Regions from separate parts of the Homo sapiens genome. Here region 1 is linked to region 2. The links are contacts of gene promoters, found by promoter capture Hi-C in blood cells and fetal thymus (Javierre and others, 2016). All regions are on one chromosome and are shown on one strand. Each heading gives the region's core, a stretch centred on a gene start or on the middle of the fragment in contact. The rest is flanking DNA. Distances are from core to core; before and after follow the strand shown. Region 1 overlaps CUBN (cubilin). Region 2 holds the start of CUBN (cubilin).

What was found. Contacts are between HindIII fragments. The CHiCAGO score rates a contact against its expected background, and 5 or more counts as called.
Region 1: a fragment that was not itself captured here is called in contact with the fragment with the promoter of CUBN in region 2 in 12 of 17 cell types (activated CD4 T cells, total CD8 T cells, M1 macrophages and 9 more); the score reaches 12.2 in activated CD4 T cells.

Annotation. Positions count from the first base shown.
Region 1 is chr10:16,854,549-16,859,100 of GRCh38, reverse strand. All of the region lies in intron 59 of CUBN (cubilin), which reads left to right. Among named protein-coding and RNA genes, the nearest start is that of RSU1, 39 kb to the right of the region's middle. RefSeq lists a silencer at 2,655-2,855. The HindIII fragment of the contact is 1,463 bases long and covers 803-2,265 here.
Region 2 is chr10:17,127,958-17,132,017 of GRCh38, reverse strand. CUBN (cubilin) reads left to right here and starts at 2,207. Exons shown (of 67, transcript NM_001081.4): 1 at 2,207-2,374; 2 at 2,768-2,897. The coding sequence starts at 2,253. The HindIII fragment of the contact is 5,551 bases long and covers 1-4,060 here.

The DNA.
Region 1 (4,552 bases), core at 285-2,784, 270 kb after region 2:
TAGATCATGTTTTTGATACCAAGTCTAAGAATTCTTTGCCTACCCCAAGGTCCCAGAGATTATTCTGGTGTTTTCTTTTAAAAGTTTTATGATTTTACATTTTTCATTTGTGTCTATGATCCATTTTGAGCTCATTTTGGTTTAGATATGAGATTTAGGTGGAAGTCAGTTTTTTGCCTCTGGATGTCCAATTGCTCTAGCACCATTGGTTGAAAAGGCTGTCCTTCCTTCATTGAATTGCATTGGCACATTTGAAAAAAATCAGTTGGACATATTTGTATAGGTCTATTTCTGGGTTCTGTATTCTATTCCATTGATTATGTGTCTAACTCCTCACCAATATCACACTGTCTTGATTACTATAGCTACATGGTAAGCCTTAATATCAGGTGGAGTGATTCATCCCACTTCATTTTTCTTTGTGAAGTTGTTTTAGCTATTTGAAGGCCTGTGCCTTTCCATATAAATTTTAAAATAAAGGCTGGGGGCAGTGTCTCATGCCTGTAATCCCGGAGCTTTGGGAGACCAAGGTGGGAGGATCCCTTGAGGCCAGGAGTTCAAGACCAGCCTGGCCAATAATAGCAAGACCCTGTCTTCACCAAAAATAACAAAATTAGCCAGGCATGGTGGCATTTGCCTGTGGTCCTAGCTAACTGGGAGGCTGAGGTAGGAGGATCCCTTGAGCCCAGGAGTTCAAAGTTGCAGTGAGCTGTGATCACACCACTGCACTCCAGTCTGGGTGACAGAGCAAGCCTCTATCCTAAAAAAACGTAAATAAATAAAAATAAAAATAAGTTAAGCTTTTTGATGTTTGCAGAAAAACCTTGCTGAGATTTTTATAGGAATTGCATTAAATCTATCCATCAATTTGGGGAAAACTGATGTCTTTACTATGTTGAGTTTTCCAATCCATGAACATATATGTATCTAGACTTATTTAGGCCTTCTTTTATTTATTTCATTATTTTGTAATTTTCATCACATAAGCCTGTATCTGCTTCATTAAGTATATACCTAAATATTTCATTTTTTTGTAATGATTATAAATGGTATTGTTTTTTAATTTTGGTCTCCACATGTTAATGGTTAGTATATTAAAATTTGATTGATTTTTGTGTATTGTTCCTTTATCCTGAGTTCTTGCTGAACTCATATGTTAGTTCTAAGAATGTTTTTCCATATTACTTGGGATTTTCTGCAGCTAATAGTTACTTGCAAAAGTGGAAATTTTATTTCTTCCTTTCCAGTCTCTCTATATATTTTTTCTTGCTTTATTCTGGCAAGAATTCTAATACTACGCTGAGTTAGAGGGGTGTGAAATCAATATCGTTGCCTTGTTCCTGATCTTAGGGAGAAAGCGTTTAGTATTTCACCATTAATTATGCTGTTAGCTGTAGGTTTTTGCAGATGGTTTTTATCAAGTCAAGAAATTTCTCCTCTATTCCTAGTTTGCCAAGAGTTTTTATCATGAATGTGTGTTGGATTTTGTCAAATCCTTTTTCAGCATCAACTGACATGATCATGTCATTTTGCTTAGTAAATTATTTTTTTAATTTCCAAGTTGGAAAGAATGATTCTCATAAAATGCCCTGGGGCTAATGATGTATGCATAGAGCATTTTCAGTGATATCTAAATAATGCAAGATAAATTAAAAGATAACGATAAAATTTTCCTTCTCCTAAGTTCTTTATACAAGTATTGCTCTTTTTCTATTAACTACAGCTACTGATTAGCTTGCTGAAATTACCTTTCTTTTAGTAAATTACCATTCTTTTAGTTTTATGATTCCTAAATATTACCAGACTAAATACACATTTTAATTTAGATTAAGCTGGGTTTCAAATTAGGATAACTAAAGTGAGTCAAATTAAGTGAAGCAACTAAAAACAAACAAAACAATAAAAAACCTCATTACAAAAACTACTAACTTTTTTCTTGTAAAACATAAATATTATACCTGAAGTATTGTACACATTGGAGATTAGGGAGTAAAATAATAAACACTGTTTACTTTTAGAGAAAAAGACAAAACAGGTTCGTCTGAAACCTAGTAGAATGTTTTTACATGAATACACTGCTTTGGAGCAATTGTGTATCTGCAGCTTTATAAATTACAGTAAGGCTGATTCCAAAAAAGGATAATGCATTTCTAGCCCTGCATCCCTGGGTGGTAGAAAGGAAGCTGTCTAGGTGTGCTCGAATTTCCCTAAGGCACCAGCTTTAAATGTCTTTGTATTCTGCTTCCTGTAGTTTCCAGTAAAGCTTCCTTCAGCTGCAGCCTAAAGCCACAGATGGCTTGCTGGAAACAGGAGAGGGCCTGAAGTCAAGCCAGTCTGTATCTGCTCGTACAGCACACTGTGCACCTTCTCAGTAGTGGTCAACCAGAGACAGGCAGAGATACTATCCAGACAACCTCAGGAAAATGTCAGCCGTATAGAATGTGAGCCACAAAAATGTCAATTCTCCAAATAATGATTTAAAAATGTATCTAACTCCACTGAAGCCTTCGAGATGTTTTATCCAAGAGAATGTAACTATTTTTTCCCTTATCAGATTGATCTTGGCTTAAGCTTCACTCTGAGGTTTAGTCATTGGAAGGTAATAATTCAGGATTCGGTTACCGATTTTTAATTAAGTAGATTTAGACCTGGATCTCACTCCTTATTATGGGGTTATATTTCCAATATTTCTTTAGCCAAAACATGTATTTTCTCTGAAGAAATGGCTCTTTTGTGTGAGAGAGATATTTCCAATTCAGGGAAGAAAGAGTGACGTTTGTTCTTGGACGCAGGGTGTGTCATCAGAGAGTGACTGACACACCTGATTGATGAGGCAGGTGCTGATGGATGAGAGCTGTCTAGGTGGCCCCAAAATGTGTAGTAATGAGGAAATGATGGATTGGTGATGCTAAACATATCAAGGTTAAGATGGCTTATACATTAAAAAATGCAATTTCAAAATATCAGTATGGTAAATATATATGACTTTCTGATGCGTGGGACTCTATTGCATAGTCACAGAGGTCGCCCTTGTTTATATTCCCCCACCATTGAAACACAGAAAGAGCAATGTGGCAATAGCTCCTTTTGGGAAAGAACCCTTCTTTTGTTAATATTGATCATTACGTTTTCTCAAAGACATATACACTTACATTTCATTTTGCATGGAGCAGTTTTGCTATATTTAAGCACTAAAGAGGGGGAATTAGAGCAATTGCTATTCCCTGCACTACACAAATAACTGTTCACTCATGTAATATGATATTCACTTCAAATATTTGATTATTTTGGCCAGGATTATCTCATGATATTTTTCTCCATGTTCTTTATTCTGTGTGTATATTTTGTGAATTGAACAATGAGCTCTATTATAGTTTGATAGCTCAAACAAGCTATTAATATTAGTTGTGTGTATTAGTCTGCTATTACCATGACAGTGCTACTTAACAAACCATCCAAAATTCAGTGTCTTATAATGAAAGCATTTGTTTTTATCACTTATGGGTCCACGGACTAGCTTGCCTGCCTCCGTTCCAAGCTGCGGGTTGGCTGTAGTTGGCTGTAAAGTTGAGTCTGGGTTCAAGTCTGCTCCACATGAATCCACTTTTTCTTTGAACCAGCAGTTACTCAGCACATGATATCTTAGTGGATCACAGGAGCACAAAGTCCTAGACAACAATAAAAACAAGAACAAAACGTAAGCACGTTTAAGGCCTCTGGCTGCTTCATGACCACTAACACTCATTCTAAAGCAAGTCGTAGGGCTAAGCCTAACATCAAGTGCACAGAAAAATATACTCTCCATTTTAGTGCAGTGCAAAGAGAGATACTGAAGAATTAAAAATCAGCCAGTTAAGCTGGGCATGGTGGCATGCACCTGTAATCCCAGCTATTCAAGAGGCTGAGGTGGAAGGATTTGCTTGACCCCAAGAATACGAGACCAGCCTGGGCATCATAGCAAGTCCTCATCTAGAAGAAAGGAAGGAAGGAAGGAAGGAAGGGAAGGAGGGAGGGAGGGGAGGGGAGGGGAGGAGAGAGGAGGGGAGGGGAGGGGAAGAGAGATAGAGAGAAAGAGAGAGAGAGAAAGAGAGAGAGAGAAAAAAGGAAAGGAAAGGAAGAAAAAAGAAGGAGTGAGGGAGGAAGAGAGGAAGGGAGGGAGGGAGGGAGGAAGGAAGGAAGGAAGGAAGGAAAGGAGGGAGGATGGATCAGCCAATTTACCACTCAATCCATGGCAAACACATCAGTGATTTAAGGATGCTTGTTCTGGGGTTCCCTGGAATGTGGGTGTGCTGCTTTATGGCATTAGTCATAGCAGTAGTACTACATAATAAGTGTGTGTAATGGCATTCACTGGGCCCAAGTACAATTGCCATCTTGCCCTTATGAACTTATTAGTAACAGTTAATAAACAAGTAGTGATAAATATAGCTTGAATGTTTAAAAATAACATTTAGTTTTTGAAGCTGATGATTAATAGAATAATGCCCAGCAACAGCATTTTCCTGTCTACCTACCTCCAACTCTTCAGTGCTCCTACCTGCAGCCCTCACCA
Region 2 (4,060 bases), core at 958-3,457:
GTCTATCAATCAGTGTAGTTTTGGCTTTTTTAGATTTTCATATGGAATCATGTGATATAGAATCACTTAGGAAGTAGTCTTTTGTGTCTTATTGTTGTCCTTGAAAAATATTTTTAAGCAAGCAAAATGACTTGCCACAGGTTGGCAGAAAAATATTTGCAAAATACGTATTTGAAAATTCTTGTATCTAGAATATATGAGCTCTTACAATCAATAAAAGACAAACAACAAAATTTTAAAAAATAGGCAAAATATCTAAACAGACAGTTCACCGAAGAAGATAAACAAATGGCAAATATACATAAAAAGATGCCCAACATCTTTGGTCATTAGGGAAATATAAATTAAAATTGTAATGAGATACCTATGTTGACACAAAGACCTGTTCACAAATGTTCATAACAGCTTTATTTATAATAGTCCCAAACTGGAAATAACTCAAGTGTTTATCAACTGATGAGTAGAGAAGCAAACTGTGGGATAGCCATATGATGAAATACTACTCAATAATAAAAGGGAACCAATTAATGATATACACTACAGCACAGATGAATTACAAAAGCATTATGTTGAGTGAAAGAAGCAGATACAAGAGACATATAGAAGAAATTGGGAAGGTTTAAAAAAAATTTTTAAAAGCAGTGACTATTTGAGTATCACAAGTAAAGTTTTTTTTTGTTTTGTTTTGTTTTTGAGACGGCATCTCGCTCTGTCCCCCAGGCTGGAGTGCAGTGGCATGATCTCAGCTCACTGCAAGCTCCGCCTCCCGGGTTCACGCCATTCTCCTGCCTCAGCCTCCCGAGTAGCTGGGACTACAGGCGCCCGCCACTAAGCCCGGCTAATTTTTTGTATTTGTAGTAGAGACGGGGTTTCACCACGTTAGCCAGGATGTTCTCGATCTCCTGACCTCGTGATCCGCCCGCCTCGGCCTCCCAAAGTGCTGGGATTACAGGCGTGAGCCACCGCGCCCGGCATAAGTAAAGAATTATAAGCTATGGTACATAATGATCCTCTCCTCAAAGAGCCTACATAAGTAAGACACAAAATAAGTAAAACACAAACAGGCTTGTCCTGAAAGAGCCTGCATGGGTATTAACCAATGCAATGGTAATTACCTAGAGATTTTTCTTAGAAGTGAAATTTTTACAGCTCTCCCTCAAATTCAGTTTTGTCTGTGTGCTCATGGAAAGTCTGAGTGCATCAATAGTTGATTTTACAATCGAAATGTAGAATATTTTCATCACTCTCAGTGGTTTCTGTAGTCCCAGCACAGAGTGAGTGGGGACATCAGTGCTCCATGTCCTCAAACCATATATCCAGCTGGAAGGGTGTATAGCGCAGTGTGGAAAGTGGGAATGGATTCCACAGCCGTCCATAGGTCCCACAGGGATGATAAAAAGTAAAAAGTACAAATTCTTTGTACATTCTGGATATTAACCCATTTTCATATATATATGATTTGCAAATATTTTCTTCCATTCTGGGAGTTGCTTTTTCACTCTGTTGATGTATTTTTTGATGCACAAACGTTTTTAATTTTGATGTATTCCAATTTATATCTTTTGGTTGTCTGTGTGTTTTTCTTTTTTTGCCCATGCTTTTGGTATCATACTCAAGAAATCATTGCCAAATCCAAAATCCAAGGTCATGAATTTTTGTCCTATTCTTCTGAGTTTTATGTTATAGTTTCAGATTTTTTGAACCATTGTGAGTTAATTTTATAGTTTTAGCTCTTAGATTTAGATCTTTGAACTTTTTTGAGTTAATTTTTGCATATGGTATGAGGTAAGCCTCCAACTTCTTTTGCATGTGGATATCTAGTTTTCCTAGCGCTGGGTAAAGGTGGAACTCCTCTGCAAGGGAGGTGAGGAAGGAGGGGAACAGAGAAAGGTGTAGATAATGACCAGTTTACTTTTGTTGAAACCTAGTTACTTCTTAAGCAAAGATTGTTTAAGTGGATGTTTTCAAAGCTGCTTGTTACTGTTTCAAAGGTCAAATAGATAATGATTAAGTTGCGCATCACTTAAGGTAGATTTTGACCTCTCACAAGTTGAAGAGTACTGAAGATCTAAGATCATTTACATCCCTCTGGAAGAAAAAATAACATAGCCTTCTAGGGCAAAGAAGAAAAAACTCAACAGTTACAGGATATTCCATGGTTCAAAGTACACCTGCCTGGTTTGCTGTTCTCCAAAATCCCATGCTCAGTTGGTTGGAGTGGCCTCACTCTTACCTGCCAACCTGGGAGGTTGATGATGAACATGTCTTTACCTTTTCTTTGGAGTTTGCTTACCTTATTAATATTTGCTGAAGTAAATGGCGAAGCTGGAGAACTTGAGCTGCAGAGACAAAAAAGAAGCATCAATCTCCAACAGTAAGTAAACACATGGGTCATTCCTGCTCAGGGACTAGGCTAATTCCTCACCAGTTTTCCCAAATAGCCAGATAAACAAAGGTGCAATTTTTCTTGAGGAAAATTATGTTGAGAAGCAAACAGGGAAAAACATTTAGACTGAGGTATGAAATTACTTTCCTATGCACAAATTATTATCTGTCATTTTGCAAATAATCTGTTTGCAATTGCCAGGAGGTATCTCTGAGAAATGTGCAGAGAAAAAAGTGGCAGATGAGCAGGGGCAGTTGGGTTGAGATGATCAAAAAGTGAAGATGTATTTGGCCTGTAGTTATTCAGTAAGAAACTTTGTTATTTTGGTTTAAAAATTGTACTTGCTAATTACTGATGCATTCTCTCGTTTGAATTATATAGGCCTCGAATGGCTACAGAGAGAGGAAATTTGGTGTTTCTTACGGGGTCTGCTCAAAACATTGAGTTTAGAACCGGATCCCTGGGAAAAATTAAATTAAATGATGAAGATCTCAGTGAGTGTTTACATCAGGTAATACACTGGAAATATATTGAAGTCATTTTGTATATCCATATACGGTGACTTAATTGAACAAGTCTAGATTAATCTGTACCTTGAATCTTTTTTAATTATTATTTTTTATTAATACATAATTTGATACATTCCTATAATGTGTAAAGTTCAAATCAGGGTAATTGGGATATCCATCACCTTAAATATTTACCTTTTCTTCATGCTAAGAACATATGAATTGTTCTCTTCTAGTTATTTTGAAATGTACAATAGATTAATGTTAACTATAGTCACCCTACTGGTCTATCAAACACTAGGTCTTATTTCTTCTATCTAACTATATATTGTATTCATTAATCAACCTGTCTTCAGCCTCCCTCCCCCTTCCTAGTGTACCTTGAATCTTTAGCATAGAGAACATAATTGGGCATCAGACATGTTCTTGTAAAGGACGATGGCCTGGGGTTAATAGTGGGTAGAGGGAGTATGCTAAAAGATAGAAGCTCATTGTGCCAGACAATGCACCCTAGTCCAGAGAAGGCACGGAGGGTGGAACTGAAACTCCTCCACAGGGGATGCGAGGAAGTAGGGGACCAAGGATATGTGGACATGTGACCAGTTTGCTTTTGCCACAGAACAGAATTGGCCAGTTATTCTCCTGCCTTACTGGGTGTTTTCATTTCCCAATAATCACTGCATATTTCAGTCATAATGTTAGAAGTCAGCATTATTCAGAGCTTACTGTGGGCCATCCACTGTGCTTAGCACCGTATGGATGTTATCTCATTTGACCTTCACAGCTGTCCTATGAGGTGGCCTTTATTGTCACCCTAGTTTTACAAGAGGTAAAGAAACCCTGAAGCAGTTAGGTAACTTGCCCAGGACAGCAATAAATAGCTGAGCCAGGACTTAAAACCTAAACAGTCTGCTTCCAAGCCAGGTTTCTTAATAAGCACCCTAAACTGGTATTATAGGAAAACATACAAATGGAAAATACCTTGATCTATTGTTACTGAAAAGGATAAGTGGAATTATGCTGTGGCTATTTTAGCCCAGTGTTTATTACGCATGGTGTTGTTTTGGTTTTTATAATAATAGGCAAGATCTTAGTGCTTAAAGTAGAATACTACTCAAGTTTTTAATTATGTTACTGTAAAGATAAATATGATATTTTCACTAGT